2 separate regions of the Homo sapiens genome follow, and region 1 is linked to region 2. The links are contacts of gene promoters, found by promoter capture Hi-C in blood cells and fetal thymus (Javierre and others, 2016). All regions are on one chromosome and are shown on one strand. Each heading gives the region's core, a stretch centred on a gene start or on the middle of the fragment in contact. The rest is flanking DNA. Distances are from core to core; before and after follow the strand shown.

Region 1 (5,471 bases), core at 2,289-4,788, 900 kb before region 2:
ATTGTTGGTTTAATTTTTTTTTTTTTTTGAGACAGTCTGTTTCCCAGGCTGGAGTGTAGTGATACAGTCACAGCTCACTGTAGCCTCGACCTTCCAGGCTCAAAAGATGCTCCCACCACAGCCTCCCAGGTAGTGAGTAGCTGGTACTACAGGTGTGTGCTGCCACACCCGACTAATTTTTTTGTAGAGACGGGGTTTCGCTGTTCCCAGGCTGGTCTCAAACTCCTGGGCTCAAGTGAACCTCCCGCCTCGGCCTCCCAAAGTGCTGGGATTCCTTTCTTTATTTCTGTAGAATCTATTTTATGGTTGGCATTTTGGGGGAAGATTTCGATGGGTTCCACATTCTTGCTTTAGTTGTTGTAGAGGGATTTGGGTGTTTCTACCCAAGGCATTGGTCTAGCTTTTCCTACAATGAACCTATCTTTGGAGGTTCAAGCTCCCCACCTTCCCCCACTGTGGTGACCTGTGGCCACTTGCAGAAGGGATGGTGCCTGACCCACTGCCCTAGCCCCACGCTATGCACCAAACTTGTTCTCCCCGTCCTGGTCCAGGGCTGGGGTCTTTAGAGACTGACAGCCTCTGCCCCAGGCCTGAGTCCTTAGCAAGGGTTGGGTAAGGAGGTTTTAAGGGAGAAGGTCCAGTCCTTAGCCCTTGAAATACAAAGCTCTTCTGACACTGAATTTGGATGCACCTTGTTTTATATAATAAATCGTGTTTCACAGATGTCCCTGTTGCTGTGAAGGGGATGCAGGGCAGGCCTTCTTAGGATAACTTTACTTGTTCCCAAGAGCCGGGTGGTGGCAAGTTTGGGTGGACAGGACCTGGGAGGGGAGTGGGTTTCAGGTGTAACCCTGTCAGATGCTAACAAGGGCCAACAGCTTCTGAATGGGGAGAGTTATTCCAAGGCTACAGGCTTTGAACTCTTGTCCCTGAGTTCAGAGTCTCTATCTCTTCCACTGAGTATTTATTTATTTAGAGACGGAGTCTTGTGTTGCCCAGGCTGGAGTGCAGTGGTGCGATCTCAGCTCACTGTAACCTCCGTCTCCCAAGTTCAAGCAATTCTCCTGCCTCAGCCACCAGAGTAGCTGGGATTACAAGTGTGTGCCGCCACACCCGGCTAATTTTTATATTTTTATTAGAGACGGGGTTTCGCCATGTTGGCCAAGCTGGTCTCAAACTTCTGACCTCAGGTGATCCACCTGTCTGGCCTCCCGAAGTGCTGGGATTACAGGCATGAGCCACCACACCCAGCCCTCCCTGAGTGTTTAGTATAAGCACTCTTTTTTTTTTTTTTTTTTTGAGACCGAGTCTCGCTCTGTCTTGCACTGTCGCCCAGGCTGGAGTACAGTGGCATGATCTCGGCTCACTGCAAGCGCCGCCTCCTGGGTTCACGCCATTCTCCTGCCTCAGCCTCCCAAGTAGCTGGGATTACAGGTGCCCACCACCACGCTCGGCTAATTTTGTTTTTGTATTTTTAGTAGAGATGGGGTTTCACCGTGTTAGCCAGGATGGTCTTGATCTCCTGACCTAGTGATCCCCCTGCCTTGGCCTCCCAAAGTGCTGGGATTACAGGTGTGAGCCATCGCGCCCAGCCGAGACAGTCTCACTCTTTTGCCCAGGCTGGAGTGCAGCTGTGCAATCTTGGCTCACTGCAGCTTTGACCTCCCAGGCTCATGAGCCTCCCACCTCAGCCTCCCAAATAGCTGGCACCACAGGACGTCCCACCAACCCAGCTAATTAATTTTTTTTTTTTTTTGTAGAGAGGAGGGTCTCACTATGTTGTCCAGGCTGGTCTTGAACTCCTGGGCTCAAGTGATCCTCCCACCTTGGCCTCCCAAAGTGCTGAGATTACAAGTGTTAGCCACTGCACCTGGCCTCAAGTTTCTTTCTTGAGCAACTACCACATACTAGGGGACTTTCATAGGTTATCTTATTTAACTCTCACAACACCTTAAGCGTTAAGTCTTTATCATTTTCATTTCAGAGATAAGGAAACAGGCCCAAGAAGGCTGAAGATCTTGCCCAAAACCACACAGCTAGTCCATGAAACTGAACTTGGACTATCTACCCCTCACACGGGAATCTCTCTTTGATTTGAGAAAAGGAACCAGTGCCTTTCAACTGGAACAGAAAGGAATCTGATCTCAACACCTATGCCTCCACGTAAATTATTTTTTTCAGCCTTATTTCCCTCAAAATTGTAGAGTCCTAATCTTCTTCTATCTTGTGGTGTGAGACCTTGGATAAGTCTCCCTTCCACCTTTTCCTATTACTTAAAATGGTGAATTTGCATAAACCAGGCTCTAAGGGTCTTTTCTGCACTGTTCGGATGTGTACAAATTGACATCCAAGTTTAAAGGAAGACTCTGAAACTTAGGTCAATGACTTGCCCAAGGCCATATAGCGAGGGCCTGATGTACACATATCAGGAGCTTGGGGCATCCTCAGCTCAGGAAAAGGGACCTCCTGGGAGTGCCTGCGCCCACACGGGATCAAAACGGTGCCCAGCCTTCAGAAACCTCAGCCCGAGTTCCAGGGGTAGGCCTGGGCCGCTGCTGCCCTTGTGCGGAGGCATCCCGTGAGCATAGGGCGCCATAGCCAAAGAAGCGGGCAGTGGGACCATGACGCCAGGAGGACACACCAGTCCAGTCCCGTTCCTGTAGGACCTCGTTTATTATTACAAGGCCCATTTAAGGGCACTTAGGCCCCACTAGGCTCATCAGAAAACCTTGAGGCGGTCCCTGGATTTAACCACTAATGGTGGGTTTGAGTACGGCAAAGTAGGGCACCTTCTACAGGCCTCACTCTCCCCATCTGGCAAATGGGCATCCTAAGCAGCCAGACACCCAAGGGCAATAACGGGAAGGAAAGGTACCCTGCATTTATGTGCGAGGCGGGGCAAACCGCCTGAGTCACCGCTCACGGTTGTGTTTTTCCACCTCCCGGCCGTCCCTCCCATCCGGGTGAGTCCTCGTGGGTCCTCCCGGAGGCGCCCCCTAGTCCCAGGCTCTGCACGCCCTGGCCCCGCCCCTTGACTCGGCCCCGCCCACAGCGGAATCCGCAGATTCGCCAGGTCGGATCCTCAGAATTCCTCGGGTCCCTCGATACTCGGCTGAAAATTCTCATCGGACTCTGAGAGGAGCGCTGGGCTGGAGGCATTTTCCCCAGGGACAGAAGCGGGCTATTCTCTCACTTGGGCCAGTAAGAAAAATCCAAAAAAAGTTGTCGACTCTGCCAGCAGGGATTGGCTAACGGGCCGTTATTTTCTTGACTCCACCAAGGCGGATGAAGGGGAGGCTACGGCTGAGGCCGGGAACAGTGGCGAATCTGCAGCCTCTCAGAATTTGGCAGTGCAAGGAAGGGACGGGGAAGAGAAGCAAAGCGGCGCGCATCCTGTCCAGCGATTCGCCCCGCCCGCCCGGTGAATCTGCGTCTGCAGAACGCGCCACTGAAGGTTCCCCAGCGCTGGCTGGCCTCCTCCCCTCCGCCCCGCCCCTTTTCCTCAGGGACTAGTCGCAGCTTTCGTCGCCGCCGATTCGTCAAGGTCCCGGGCCGCAGCATCTAGATCGTCGTGGCGAAGCCGACTCTCCGGGGGATGCGGCCAATCTCCAAGCTCCCTGGGCCGCAACTTCCGAGCCTCCCAGGGCGCCGGCCGAGGCGAAGCCGCTACCCTCGGCCCCGTGGGTCCCCCGGCAGCGCCTGTGGCGAAAGTGCGAATGCAGACCCTGTGCCCGCTGGGCCTCGCGCAGGTGGCAGTGGTGTTTGGTGCGCGCGCCGGGGAGGTGGTGGTGGGGGGGCGCCGCCGCCGCCACCGCTGCGGGGCCGGGTCTCGCGCTGCCGCTGCCGCCGCCTCGCGCCGCTGAGGTGCCGCGCGAGGTGGGGGGAGGGGGAGCCGCTCGCCGGGAGCGGGTGAGTGGGGCCGCGCGGCGCGCGTGCGCGGAGACCTGCTGGGGGGGGTGCAGAACGCGCCGGGGCGGGAGGAGAGGGCAGCGGTGCACGTTCCCCCCACCCCCCCGCCCGGATTCGGGGTCGAAGCCGGGTCTCGGGCTCGGTCTCGCGGTGTTTCCAACGCCCCGAAGAGGTGCCACCTTTCGGCCGGAGGATCGGGGCGCGGGGAGGAGAGCGGGTGTGTGGGAGCCGTGGCCGGGCTCGGCCCGGGCCGCTGGCCGGTGAGGAGGCGGGAGGGGGCGGGGCCTGCAGGGGGCGGGGGAGGGGTCTTGCTCCGAGGCCAAGTGGGGCGCGCGCTAGGGAGAGCGGGAAGGTAAGGGGGCTCGAGACGGGCCTGGGGGCCTGACAGTAGAGTTGGGAGGTGGAAAGAGGCTGGGTTGTTGTGGCGAAACAGAGGGTACTTGGGGGAGAATCCGGGGGAGCCCCGGGTCAGGGTGAGGGTTGGAAACTGGAGTGATGGGAGAACCTGGAATCGGGGCTAGCCAATGAGGAAAGGCAGGGGAGTCAGGCCCCAAGTCCTGATCCTTCTTGCGTGTCCCTCTTCCCCTAACAGTGTAAATGAGCAAAGATGGATCAGGAAGGTGGGGGAGATGGGCAGAAGGCCCCGAGCTTCCAGTGGCGGAACTACAAGCTCATCGTGGATCCTGCCTTGGACCCTGCCCTGCGCAGGCCTTCTCAGAAGGTGTACCGCTATGATGGAGTCCACTTCAGTGTCAACGTGAGTGCCCGGGTCTTTGGTTGCCATCCGGGGAGCTCCAGGCGCCCGTCCTCTGTGATTCTGTTCAGCACCTAGAACGGTAGCCTGCCTTCTTGAAAGTGGGCAGTTGGACCCAGCTCTTCTGCATGTGTGTGTCCAGATGGGCTGCTTGGAGCTCCCTAGCCTGGATTCACCCTGAGCTCTCTTTCTGCTGCTGCTTTCCTTCCTAGGACTCAAAGTATATACCAGTCGAAGACCTCCAAGACCCCCGTTGCCATGTCAGGTCCAAAAACAGAGACTTTTCCCTCCCAGTCCCTAAGTTTAAGGTAAGTGTCTGCTGGGCTCCTGGTGTGGTAGTCCTAAGAGGGTGTGGAGGATGCGTCTTGGCACTATAGCTGAATAAAAGGGTTTCCAATGAAAGGATCTCAGCCAGATCTAGCAACCTCTGAGGCTGTGAGACTCAGTTGTTTTGGATAGGAGGTACACTTAATCTTCCAGAAAGGTGCAGGTCAGGTGTCCTAAGTGTATCCCTGGTGGCTGGGGTGTCGACTTCTTGAAGGGTGAGGTAAAGACTCTTTAGCTGCTATACCTATCACTGTATATTCGTAGACAGTGCATCATAGCACACAAGAGTGGGATCTCCCAGTTCCTTGACAGTCAAGGGGAGTGACAAGGCCACTGCCTACCTGGGTAGCACTATTCCCCGCCTCTCATTTGGCGATGTCATTTCCCTCTTGTTTCCTTCGAGGACTCCTATTCTCCACCCTAGACAAGATATTCTTCAGGCCTTGAACTGGGCCTGGAACACTGGTGGTTCTTCATTTCC
Region 2 (5,412 bases), core at 1,016-3,515:
CAATTAAAACAGGATATCAAAATGTAAATGGCTGGTTAAAATAAATTAAATATTTCATCTGCATCTAAATAAAAGTGACCGTTAAACACGTGTGCATGGTAGGCTAGAGGCCCAGGTTGTCCCCTTTCCACTCAAATAGTCCTCTAATCAACAAAACATGGACTACATGGTAGCTCCTTTTCAAAATCCTACAGCCTGAGATAATAAACTGTGTCAAACGCTCTCGCTACTATTTCCTAAAATGCAGTACCCTGCGGGTCAGCCCCCGAGGGCCATCTAGCCTCCATCTTCCAAGACCAATTTTACCTGGTGTCTCCAACAACAAGGGAAAAATTTAGTGTTCCTTGAAAACTTAATGCAGTGAAGTCAGGCACTTCCAAGAGCTGACCCATCAATCCCCCCTTATTCATCACCAAACAGGTATGTAATAATATTGTAGAAGACCTTTACTGAACACTCTGCCAAATAATTAAAGCAATATTTGTGCTCTAGTTCAATTGGCTATCCCTTTTACCGTGGCATTTCACCAACCAGAAAAACTTTTTCTTTTAAAAACTCAAGCAAAACAGCTAAACCAAAACATGTTAAAAAATTTTAAAGAAAAAAAGCTATAAAATCAAAAGGAAGGAATTGCAGAAAGTAAAAAGTTTCCTCTTCAAAGTTTCCATTCTTGTTACAGGATAAATAAGTGTTAGAAATAATAGTTTCTTTTAAAGACTAATTTCTTTCAAGCCTCCTTACTTTGTGCTAATAACTCTTTGTTTAAGCCCTATCCTATGTAGCTGTTAAACATGCTCACAGGCACATAGTACATTCTATGTCCTTGTGCCTTAACGGAAATACCTGTCCTGGATGTGCTCACAGGCATGTCCCAGCTCACAGCCTGTCACTTCCTTATTTAGGAATGTTATTACTTTTCTAAGTCCTTTCATAAACAACTTCCTCTTTTCATTTATCTTTCCATTGCTTTTACCTGTTTAAAAAATTTTAAGTTATTAGCCAATCAGGTTTTAATTTAAATTATGAAGTCTGTCTCCAGCCAATAAAAACAGGACACAAGAGCAGGGACAAGCTACATAAAAAATAAAAATTGCTTCCCTCCCTTGTTCAAATGTGCTCTTGCCATTGTTCCATCTGCAAGGAGCACCCTTTCTGCAGAAAGTAAAATTTCCTTGCTAAAAAAACCTTTTTGTCTAAATGCTAATTTTTCCTTACATGACCGAAAAACAAGCATTCTGTTTCTAAATAAACGTCTTACCTATAACATATACCATTACAAAATTACAAATATCCTTTCGAACATCTGTAAATTTATGTGCTCATGATATTAAAATTTATATTTTTATCTGAAAATAGTTATAATTCAGTGAGACACAAGAACAAAATTATGAGAGAGTTATCTACATCATTGAGAAAATCCTCCTGCCACTACCAACGTAAGTCGTGATCACTCACTTTTACTAAAGCTGAGAAACATCCATTTGCCCAGCGGAGTCCTGGAGTGAGTCTGTGTGTGTGGATGGTGGTCCCTGAGACTTGGTTATAAAGAAGGGATACTGTCAGCTCGTCTCCCTCCAGGCCCATAACTGTCATGTCACCTGTAGAAGCAGGACAGCCCTGGCCTCGAGATTATTGGAAAGGGGAGCAACAAAAGGAAAAACTGAACACATTTAATTCCTGGAAAAGATCAGTGTAGGACAGATGGGTTTCAAACTTTAACGTGTGCAAGCTTGTTTTCTTAGGTAATTTTGCCCAGGAGGGTTGTCTGGTCTCAGTTATTGCCAATAAAGTAGAAGCAATAACTATAGTTTCAAACTTTGTTTAATTTCTGTGTTGCTTTACCAAACATCCTTGCTAACTGAAGAAATTTCTGGGGGCCTTCACACATGGTCCCCAGTTGTCCCTACGTTTCAATATTACAGGTAGTCTATGTAAAACTTTTTTGGGAATGAAGAAAATGCCCCCTGCACCAGGCTTACATAGCGCTTACAGTGAAGTTGTTTCTACTTACAGGGATGTTTAACTACACAGTCAGCATGAGAGCATGTGGAATAAAATGATTAACACATTCTTAGCAACTGACAACTTTTATTTGCTTCTGAGACACCACCAACCACACCTATGTTATAACTAGTGCTAACTTTAACCTTGATCATGATTGCCACATTTGGAGTTACACTTTCTTAATCAAACATCATCTGATACTGAAGTGGTGACTTCTCATGCACTTAATCTATAGATTTTCCCCCAAGGCACCAGTTCTGAATATGTTTGAGTTCATGCTGGTGTACCTCTCATGTGCCATATCTGAGGCTCTAACAAATAAACTCTCCAGGCCGGGCACGGTGGCTCATGCCTGCAATCCCAGCCCTTTGGGAGGCCAAGGCAGGCGGATCACTTCAGGTCAGGAGTTTGAGACCAGCTGGCCAATACGGTGAAACCCCGTCTCTACTAAAAACACGGAAATTAGCCAGGCATCATGGCAGGCACCTGGAATCCCAGCTATTCAGGAAGCTGAGGCAGAAGAATCACTCAAACCCAGGAGGCAGAGGTTGCAGTGAGCTGAGATCGGGCCACTGCACTCTAGGCTGGGCAACAGAGCGAGATTCTGTCTCAAAAATTAAAATAAAATAAAATACAAAATAAACTTTCCATTCAGCTGCAGTCAGGACCACTTGATCCCCAGACTTCTACTGTCTTCAGTGACAATTCTCCCTGTCATCTTAAACCCAGCTGCCATCACTATGACGTTGGTGCTCAATCCAGTCAGTGTCCTTAGGTCTTGATTTATTTTCCTTCTCTGAAGCTTTTCAATTACTTCTTTATAAATTATTTTGTCTGATGCTCACAGAAAAAGCCTGCCTAATAAGAACCCTATACCCACAAAAACTAGCTATTAAAAATGAAGGTTAAATAAAAACATTTTATGTAAATAAAAACTGATACAATTTGTTGCTAGCCAACTGACCTTATGAAAAAATGGCAAAAGAAGTTTTTCAGGCTGAAAGCAAGTAAATCCAGACAATAATTTGAATGCATAAGAAAGACAAAGCACACACTAGCAAAACTAATTACATAATTATAAGACAGTGTAAGTGAATTTATTTATTTATTTATTTATTTGCACATGAATAAATTCTTTAGTGGCGATTTCTGAGATTTTGGTGCACCCATCTCCCAGGGGCCTAATAACAGCTCCAGAAGGCCTGCCATCACTGGTGCCCTAGCATGAGCTCCAGAGGTCTGGGACTTCCCCTGCCCTGCCCACAGCCTATGCTCATGTGCATCACTAGGAGGACTTGAGAACAGGCCCACCTCACCTGCCTCTCTCCCACCCTTAGTGGTCAAATATTCCACTTGTGGACCTGAGGACAGCATTGTACAGGTGGTAGCCTCTGGCATGAGTCCACCAGGGTCCTAAAAACAGGCCAAGAAAATGTGCAGCCAGCACTCAAGCATGCTGTCTAAAGGTCTAGGAATCTCCCATGCCATCCACCACTGCTGTCATCTGGGTACTCTTGGGGTCCTAAGGATGGGCCCACCCAGACAACCACCAGCATCCACACTCATGTGTCACCTAAGGCTCTAGGGACTGTCTGATTCAGCCCATTGCAGCCACCACAAACACTGTGAGTGCTGCCTGGAAGCCTGAAGTTGCCTCAACCCCACTACTCTCCTCATCCACACGGTACACACTGCTCAGAGGCCTGAGGACTTGCCCCATTTCCTAGCCCACTGCTGTTACTACAGACATCAGAGCAAGCCTCCTGAAGGCCTGAGAATCAACAGGCTTAGGCACACTAACACCAGTGCCCACATACACTACCCAGCAGCCCAAGGACAGACACCCTCAACCCTTTACTGCTGCCACTGTCACCATGGGGGCTGAAGGACTGGCCTATCTGGTGTTCCATTCCTACCAAAACCTCACCACAGCCTCAACTAGCAAACACAGCCTAAGCAAGGTTATACCTCATAATGAAGGAGAAATAAAGACGTTCCCAGACAAGCAAAAACTGAAGAAATTCATCACCACTAGACAAGCCCTGGAAGATTACCTAGACAGAAAATCAATAATGAAACATCAGATTTAAACTGTACTTTAGACCAGGGGTCCCCAACCGTCGGGTCACAGACCAATACCCACCCCTGGCTTGTTAGGAACCAGGAAGCTCAGCAGGAGGTGAGTGGCAGGTGAGCCAGTGAAGCTGAGCTCTACCTCCTGTCAGATCAGCAGCAGCATTAGATTGTCATAGGAGCTCAAACCCTATTGTGAACTGCACATGCCAGTGATCCAGGCTGTATGCTCCTTATGAGAATCTAATGATAAATGTAATGCACTTAAATTATCCTGAAATCATCCCCCTCCCCTAGTCCTAGGAAAAATTGTCTTCCACGAAACCAGTTCCTGGTGCCAAAAAGGTTAGGCACCGTTGCTTTAGACCAAAGGAACCTAACAGACATCTGCAGAACACTTGATCCAATGACTGCAAAACATACATTCTTCTCAGAAGCACATGGAACAGTCTTCAGGATAGACCCTCTGTTAGGCCAGAAAACGAGTCTTAACAAATGTTTAAAAATTGAAATCATATCAAGTATTTTCTCATACTACAGTGAAATAAAGCCAAAAATCAGTAGCAAAAGGAACTTTGAAAACTGTACAAATACATGAAAATTAAATGACATGCTCCAGAACAACCATTGGGTTAATACAGAAATCCAAACAAATATTTAAAAAATGAAGATGAAAACACAATATTTTGGAAACTATGAAATGCAGCAAAAGCAGTGTTGAGGGAAGTTTACAGCAGTAAATACCTACATCAAAAAAGTAGAAATATTTACAGTAAACAACCTAATGATACACCTCAAGAAACCAAAAAAGCAAGAACAAACTAAGCTCAACATAAGCATAAGGAATAATAAAAATCAGTCAAGGTGCAGTGGCTCATGCCTGTAGTCCAGCACTTTGGGAGACTGAGACAGCTGGATCACCTGAGGTCACGAGTTTGAGACCAGCCTGGCCAACGTGGTGAAACCTCTTCTCTACTAAAAAATACAAAAATTAGCCAGGTGTGGTGGAGTACACCTGTAATCCCAACTACTCAGGGGGCTGAGGCAGGAGAATTGCTTGAACCCAGGAGGCAGAGGCTGCAGTGAGCCGAGATGGCACCACTGCAGTCCAACCTGGGCAACAGAGTAAGACTCCGTCTTAAAACAAAACAAAACAAACAAACAAACAAAGAAATAATAAAAATCGGAGAAGTAAGCAAACTAGAAACTTAAAAAAATACAAAGGGCCAATGAAATAAAACTTTTTTTGAAAACATGAAACAACATTCATAAACCACTAGCTAGACAAAAAATAGAGAAAAGACCCAAATAAACAATGTCAGAAATGAAAAAGCA

The links. The method cuts DNA at HindIII sites, captures the fragments that hold promoters and counts their contacts. A CHiCAGO score of 5 or more calls a contact.
Region 1: the fragment with the promoter of SETD1A here is called in contact with a fragment that was not itself captured in region 2 in 1 of 17 cell types (activated CD4 T cells); the score reaches 5.3 in activated CD4 T cells.

Annotation. Positions count from the first base shown.
Region 1 is chr16:30,954,216-30,959,686 of GRCh38, forward strand. It overlaps SETD1A (SET domain containing 1A, histone lysine methyltransferase), which reads left to right and starts at 3,539. Exons shown (of 19, transcript NM_014712.3): 1 at 3,539-3,749; 2 at 4,502-4,666; 3 at 4,876-4,971. The coding sequence starts at 4,517. ORAI3 (ORAI calcium release-activated calcium modulator 3) reads left to right here. Exons shown (of 2, transcript NM_152288.3): 2 at 1-723. RefSeq lists enhancers at 2,847-3,610, 3,068-3,197 and silencers at 3,798-4,017, 4,158-4,247. The HindIII fragment of the contact is 14,721 bases long and covers 1-5,471 here.
Region 2 is chr16:31,851,394-31,856,805 of GRCh38, forward strand. No RefSeq gene overlaps it. Among named protein-coding and RNA genes, the nearest start is that of ZNF267, 20 kb to the right of the region's middle. The HindIII fragment of the contact is 1,077 bases long and covers 1,728-2,804 here.